2 separate regions of the Homo sapiens genome follow, and region 1 is linked to region 2. The links are contacts of gene promoters, found by promoter capture Hi-C in human tissues and cell types (Jung and others, 2019). All regions are on one chromosome and are shown on one strand. The core of a region is centred on a gene start or on the middle of the fragment in contact, and the rest is flanking DNA. Distances in the headings are between cores, read along the strand shown. Region 1 overlaps SENP7 (SUMO specific peptidase 7). Region 2 holds the start of NIT2 (nitrilase family member 2).

The links. The method cuts DNA at HindIII sites, captures the fragments that hold promoters and counts their contacts. A contact is called where the count stands out against the background at its distance.
Region 1: a fragment that was not itself captured here is called in contact with the fragment with the promoter of NIT2 in region 2 in 1 of the 25 tissues and cell types used here (hippocampus).

Annotation. Positions count from the first base shown.
Region 1 is chr3:101,379,455-101,382,920 of GRCh38, forward strand. The region is part of intron 6 of SENP7 (SUMO specific peptidase 7); the gene reads right to left. Among named protein-coding and RNA genes, the nearest start is that of IMPG2, 61 kb to the left of the region's middle. The HindIII fragment of the contact is 3,862 bases long and covers 1-3,466 here.
Region 2 is chr3:100,332,360-100,336,006 of GRCh38, forward strand. It overlaps NIT2 (nitrilase family member 2), which reads left to right and starts at 2,398. Exons shown (of 10, transcript NM_020202.5): 1 at 2,398-2,439. The coding sequence starts at 2,433. RefSeq lists enhancers at 2,166-2,734, 2,828-2,877, 2,898-2,957, 3,078-3,157 and silencers at 2,398-2,727, 3,126-3,420. The HindIII fragment of the contact is 4,697 bases long and covers 1-3,647 here.

The sequences.
Region 1 (3,466 bases), core at 610-3,109, 1.0 Mb after region 2:
CAGTATCCAGAATATATAAAGAAATCCTACAACTTACAAAAAAAATCCAATTCAAAAGCAGGCAAAGTACTTGAATAAACATTTCTCTAAAGAAGACATATAAATGGCCAACAACACGAAAAGATGTTCAATATCACTATTCATTAGGAAAATGAAAATCAAAATCACAATGAGATTCCACCTCACATGCATTAGGATGGTTATTATCAAAAAAACGAAAACAAGTATTGGCGAGATATGGAGTAACTGGAACCCTTGTGCACTGCTGGTGGCAATGTAACATGGTGCAGCCACTATGAATAATAGTATGATGTTTCCTCAAAAAGCTAAAAATAGATTGCCATATGATCCAGCACTTCTACTTCTGGATATATACCCAAAAGAACTTAAAGGAGAGATACAAACACACACTGAACACCCATGTTCATAATGGCATTACACACAATAGCCAAAATGTAGAAGCAACACCACTATCTATCAACAGATGAATAGAACAAAATTTAGTTGATACATAAAATGGAATATAGTCAGCCTTAAAAAGGAAGAACATTCTGACACATGCTGCAACATAGATGAACTTTTAAGACACTATGCTAAGCGAGATAAGTCAGTTAGCAAAGGACAAATACTGTGATTCCACTTATTTAAGGTACTTAGGGTCATGAAATAAATCATAGAAACTGAAAGTAGAATGGTGGCTGTCAGGGTTTAGGGGGAGAGAGGAATGAGGAGTTCCTGTTTCATAGATACAGAGTTTCAGTTTGGTAAAAATGAAAAAAGTTCTGAAAATGAATGGTGGTAATGGTTGTACAATAATGTGAATGTACTTAAAATAGATTAAAGTCCCTATTATTCAAAATGAGAACACAGATACTAATTAACTTTGGACTTTGATAGGTCTATCAAGTATATTATAATTTATAGAAAACTATTTAAAAATAGAAAGAGTCTAAATCTTCTAGAACGTAAAGCAAACCACCGCCCCCCCCCCCACACACACACACAAAACAAAACATAACTAATTTTTAAAATACAAGAATGGGTGGGGCACAGTGGTGCACACCTATAGTGTGCTACTTCGAAGGCTGACTTGAGGCCAGGAGTTCAAGGCTGTAGTGCACTATAATCATGCCTGTAAATAGCCACTGCACTCCAGCCTGGGCAACATAGCAAGACCTATCTCTAAAAAAAAAAAAAATACAAGAAAGGAAAAAAAGTCAAGCAGACCAAATAAAAAGCATAAAGAAAAATAGTAGTATAAAATATAAACAGACTATGCCTTATAGTTAAAAATAAATGTAGACTGAATGTAAAAAGAGAAGTATCCAGATACATACTATTTACTGGCAACACATATAAAATGAAAATGTCCAAAGGAGCATTGTTTATGAGAGAAAAAAAACTGGATACAATCCAAACTCCATCAATAAAAAGTAGGTAGATCTATTTTTAATATTAATACAATAAATACATAAGTAAAACTGGATGATCTCTAGCTCTATGCATCAACATGAATGAATCTCACAAAAATGTTAGGCAAAAAAAATGCATGCCATGTAATACATATTGTTCAGTAACCTGAATCATTTTTCTAAAGTTCACAATTATATAAAACTTAAAATTCAGAAAAGTGGTTAATTCTAAGGCGAATGCATGGGAATGGGACAGAATGGGCAAAGTGGGGAACACAGAAGGCTTCGGTGATGCTGATAATAGTCTATTTTTTAATAGAAGGTGAACATTTGGGTGTTTATTTTAACATTATGTTTTTTAACTTAAATGCATCTCATATATATTAGACCTGTGTTATAGTTCTACCTCTGCCACTTAATCTCTTTGAACCTCAAAAAGTTTCCACATTTATAAAATAGAAATATTAACTGCTCTCCTATCTATCTCATAGGCCTAAAGTAAAGATTAATATCAAAAGAGGATAGTGTGAAATGAATAAAAATAACACTATTTTTCATGATTATAATCATTTAATCCAGAAAAATATTTAGATGAAAGCATATCAAAATATTATCAATGCTTATTATTGAGGAATGGATTATGGGTAATATCAATTTCATACTTTTCTATATATCTCTTAATATAAATATGCATTATTGTTCAAATTAGGAAAAAGTTTAAATGTTTACATAAATTACATATAGATAATAATGAAATATTATTTTGAAAAGAGTGATAACCATATAATGCAAATGTTCAAGAGTTAACCGTGCAAATGAGTATCATTATTAGTAATTTTATTCAAAACTGACTAATGTTTCTAGCATAAAGGAGTTGAACTTAGGATATATGCACTATTTGTATCAGTGTTTTTCAAATTGCTAGTCAGAAGAAAATTTATGACATAAAACATAGAAGAGAAATTTTAAGTTAACAGGGGAAAATGATCTCAAAATAGAGTATCTTCTTTAGTGTTTATGTGGATTATTGTCATTACCAAATTACCAAAGGAAAGCTTAAAAAGAAAATCAACTGACATGAATATAGGAAACTATGACAGAGCTGGAATACATTAATAAAAATGAAACCTCCTCCACTTCCATTTAAAAGCTTTGGGCTCCCTCTGTTGGAAGTCTATATTAGAGTCTTGCAATTTAAAATAGCAATTTGATCCCTTTCACTCAAGGCTAATTACCAATCCCTGCTGAGTGGCTAGCTACAATAAAACCTTTATTACTTTTGTAAAACATAATTTTATGAAATATTTTTCTTCTTTTTTTTATTTTTAGGTACAGGGTCTCACTCTGTCACCCATGCTGGAGTGCAGTGGCTTGATCATCGCTCATTGTAACCTCTAACTCCTGGGCTCAAGCAACCTTCCAGCTTCAGCTTTCTTAGTAGATAGGACTACAGGCACACAGTACTGCACCTGACTAATTCTTTTTTTAAAAGTTTTTTGTAGAGACAGGGTCTTGCTATGCTTCCCAGGCTGATCTTGAACTCCTGACCTCAAGCCATCCTCCTATCTTGGCCTCCCAAAGCACTGAGATTACAGGTATGAGTCACCACACCCAAGCCTATTTTCTAATACAATTCGGTATATATTATTTGGAAATTAAATTAGACTTCTTTACATTAGCAGTTATAAAGTATTTCTAAAAATCCCAATGGGAAGTAAAATTTAAAAATACTAAAACATTCTGCTCAGTCTGACCTAAAAGGGAGTTCTTAATAAATATTTATAATGGAAGGGCAAAAAAAGAATCAGAACTTCAATTAGGAAAGTAATCTACAGACTTGTTCAGGAATTGATAGCTCATCTAAAGCAGTACAAATGAGAACAGTAGCTGGCTGACTTATCTCCATATTTGGGGTTAAAGAGGTCTTGCCAGGGATAAGCCAAAACACAGGAATTAAACACTAACATATTTTGCAAAATAAACTAAAAGTCTTCTATATCAAAGATACTATAAAGAAAGTGTAGTATAGCAAACTTGAAAAACAATTTACAATA
Region 2 (3,647 bases), core at 1,148-3,647:
CAGTTTCCCTGCATGTGACAGAGGGACACAGTACCCATAGGCTTTTGGTCTTGATGGCCTTCTCCTGGTCCTGCTTCTCTCTCTCTCTTTTTTTTTTTAATGGAGTCTGGCTCTGTCACCCAGGCTGGTGTGCAGTGGCACAATCTCGGCTCACCGCAACATTCGCCTCCCAGGTTCAAGTGATTCTGCTGTCTCAGCCTCCTGAGTAGCTGGGATTACAGGTGTGTGCCACCACGCCCAGCTAATTTTTGCATTTTTAGTAGAGACGGGGTTTCACCATGCTGGTCAGGCTGGTCTCGAGCTCCTGACCTCTTGATCCACCTGCCTCCACCTCCTGAAGTGCTGGGATTATGTTAATTATTAAATCTAGGAGGAGGACACAGCTGTTCCTCCACCAGGCAGTGGCGCCCGGCCTGGTCCTTCTCCTCTAATGGCTCCTTCCCAGGCTCCACAGGCCCTTCTTCTTTTGCGTGTGCCTTTCATACTCCGCTTGTGTGTTCTCATCCAAATTCAGAGCTTCCTCTTAGTTAAAACTGCTGGTGACTCCCAAGTCAATTTCCAGCCCAGACATCTTCTGAGCTTGAGGCTTTGGTCCGGTTGCCTACTGGGCATCTCCACCTGGATGCCATGGCTCATGCCTATAAGGCCAGCACTTTTTGAAGCCAAAGTGGGAGGATCACTTGAGCCTAGGAGTTTGAGACCAGCCTGGGCAACACTGTAAGAATCCACTTCTAAAAAAATGAAATAATTTGCATTTTGAACAAGCACTTCAAATAACATTTCCAGCCAGGTTTAGGACCACTATTAGTTACAATGTTAGTCCAATAAATTTGGAAATCTAGATGAATTTTTTTAACAGGTTGTAAGTGACCACAGGTTGACCCTGAAACCTCATAGGTTAATAAGCATAGCAGAAATGAAAAGGTTTTTAAAGATCTTCCTGCTACAAAGCCAAGTCCAGATAGTCTCTTAAGCTGCAGAAAGACCATAACTGCTATGTATTTCCCCCCAATTTTTTTTTATGAAAGCTTAAAATTTTAAACTTCTACAAAGTTTTAATCTAGTACCATGAACAGCTGTGTCCTCCTCCTAGATTTAATAATTAACATTTTGCCATATTTGCTTTATCTTATGTGTTTTCTTTTTGCTGACGATTTTCAAGTCAAACATTCTGATGGTTCATCCCTAATACTTCCTCATTTTCTAAGAGTAAAGAATTGTCACAAGCACAACACTATAGCACACAAAATAATTCAGAAAAGCATCAAATATCTCGTTCATATTTAAATCTCCCTAGTTGCCCCCAAAATGTTTTTATAGTGTTCTTTTACAAACCAAGATCTGTTTCAGTATAAACTATTCTGGGGCATTCCAAAAGGTGGTTAAGTTTTGGATTTTTGTTCCACAAGTCTGACAAGGCACAAAAACACAAAACACGAAAATTAAAAAGCAATCTAATAAATAAAAATGCAAAAATCATAGTCTATAGGCTGGGCGCAGCAGCTCACGCCTATAATTCCAGCACTTTGGGAGGCTAAGGCAGTAGGGTCTTGAGCTCAGGAGTTTGAGACCAGCCTGGGCAAAATAGCAAGGCCCCACCTCTATTAAAAGTAAAAAACTTAAAAAAAAAAAAAAAAGAAAGAAAGAAAGAAAAAGAAAAAAGGAAAAGAAATAGCTAGGTGTGGTGGTGTGTGCCTGTAGTCCCAGCTACTTGGGAGGCTGAGGACGGAGGATCGCTTGAGCCGGGAGGTTGAGGCTGCAATGGGCTGAGACTGCTGCACTGCACTCCTGACTGGATGACAGAGTGAGACCCTGTCTAAAACAAACAAACAAAAAAGGATATTAGCAAAGAGATGACAATGTATTCGAGGACTGACTTGTTGAGGGCATGGCGTTGAACCCTCAGCATCTTTCCCGTTGGCCTAGCAGCCTTGTAGTCAGATTTTACAGACGTCTCGCGTGCCTAAACCAACCAGGGTCATTCCGTCCCCGTCACAGAGACTTGTTCAAATAGCTCAAGCCCATCAGCATACGGTGTTAACCTGGCCACAGAGGTGATTCAACCAGCTAGAAGTTCAGTCCTTTTGCGGAGAATCAGCAAACGCTACAAATCAGGGCTTTCCTCCCTGAAAAGTCTGGTTGTTAAGACATTCACCAGCACACCACCTCGACTTAGGCCGTTCCCTTTTGCCCTTTGCCTTTCGAGGCATGCTTTTTCCGGACTGTGTTGCAATTAACCATTTCTCGTTGGTCCGTCCTGGTGTTACAGGCGCACTGGAATGAACGCAGACCCTTCTCTCCTCCCGGCCGGGGCCAGGAGGAGGGGTGGGGCGGGGCCTCTGACGCGGTCCCCGCCCCACCGTAGCGACGCCGCGGTCCGCCGGATCTCCAGCGCTCAGTCCGCGCCGCAGGTGGTGCTTGTCTGCAGAGTCATGACCTGTAAGTGGCGCGGCCGCGCGCTGCAGCTCGAGTTCGGGCCGCGGGGGAGGCTTTGGAGCGGCGCCGGCGGTGGCTCGGCCGGCTCAGCCCCTCCGCCCCGCGTCCCCGCCGTGCGCGGCCTTCCCTGAGGCGGGCGTCCGCGTGGGTCCGGGATCGCGTGGCCGGGCGGCCGGGCGCACTCCCGGGATTCCAGGCTTCCGGGGTGGCGGGCGAGGCCCAGAAAGCACCAGGCCACCCGGCCGCGCCGGCACCCGCCGCGTCCTGCTTGACAGAGGCTGATGGACGTGTATTTCTCCACGGTGTGGGCCGCGGTGGTAGGATCCAACTCCCTTGGGTGTTTTCAAGTTGCGTGACCTCCTCCAGCCCCGCCCTGCACAAAGGTGCCCAGGCGGTTCTTCGTCTCCCCACTCACTTTCCAGCTCCAGATTTTGACTTGGATTCTTGCTGTGTCACTTACTTTGTTCAGTGACTTTGTGCAGCTTTCCCCCTGCAAGTCCCCTGTTTCTTTATTTGTAAAATGATGTTAATGATACCTCACACAATGATGTTAATGTGTGAAGGACCTGGCACATTGCTTTAAATGTTATTCCTTTGTTGTTTCCTTCGCTCACAGTATTTTATTCTTTTTTTCCGCCCCTTGGTAAGGTCTTCGTTGTTAGATTATGATGAATATTAGGGCAGCCTTAAAAGTCTTCACTTTACAGATGAGATGGAGTGACGGGCGTCTCCTCCTCAGCATGAGGAACTGCCCAGTGGCGGGGTTTCCCTGCTGCAGCATGTCTGTAGAGTGGGTCATTTGCAGAATGATAGGCAGTCCTAAGCTTAGTTGAGGACCCCGCCCTTGTGGGTGAGATGTGTAGGAGAGGAAGCCATCAGCGTAGCCATGGTGAGCTTTATCTTTCCCACCCTCGGAAGCACAGACATGGCCCGGCACGTGGCTCACGCCTGTAATCCCAACAGTTTGGGAAGCTGAGGCACGAGGATCGCTTGAGTTCACGAGTCAAGAGTTGGAGACCAGCCTGGGCAACATGGCGACACCTTGTCTGTACTAAAAAATACAAAATTAGCCCGGTGTGGTGGCACGCCCCTTTAGTCCCAAACTACTTGGGAAGCTGAGGAGGGAGAATGGCTTAACGCTGGGAAATGGAGGGGAGACGTTTAGTGGATTTATCTGCTGTTCTGATAACAGCTCAAAATATCTGTTTGCC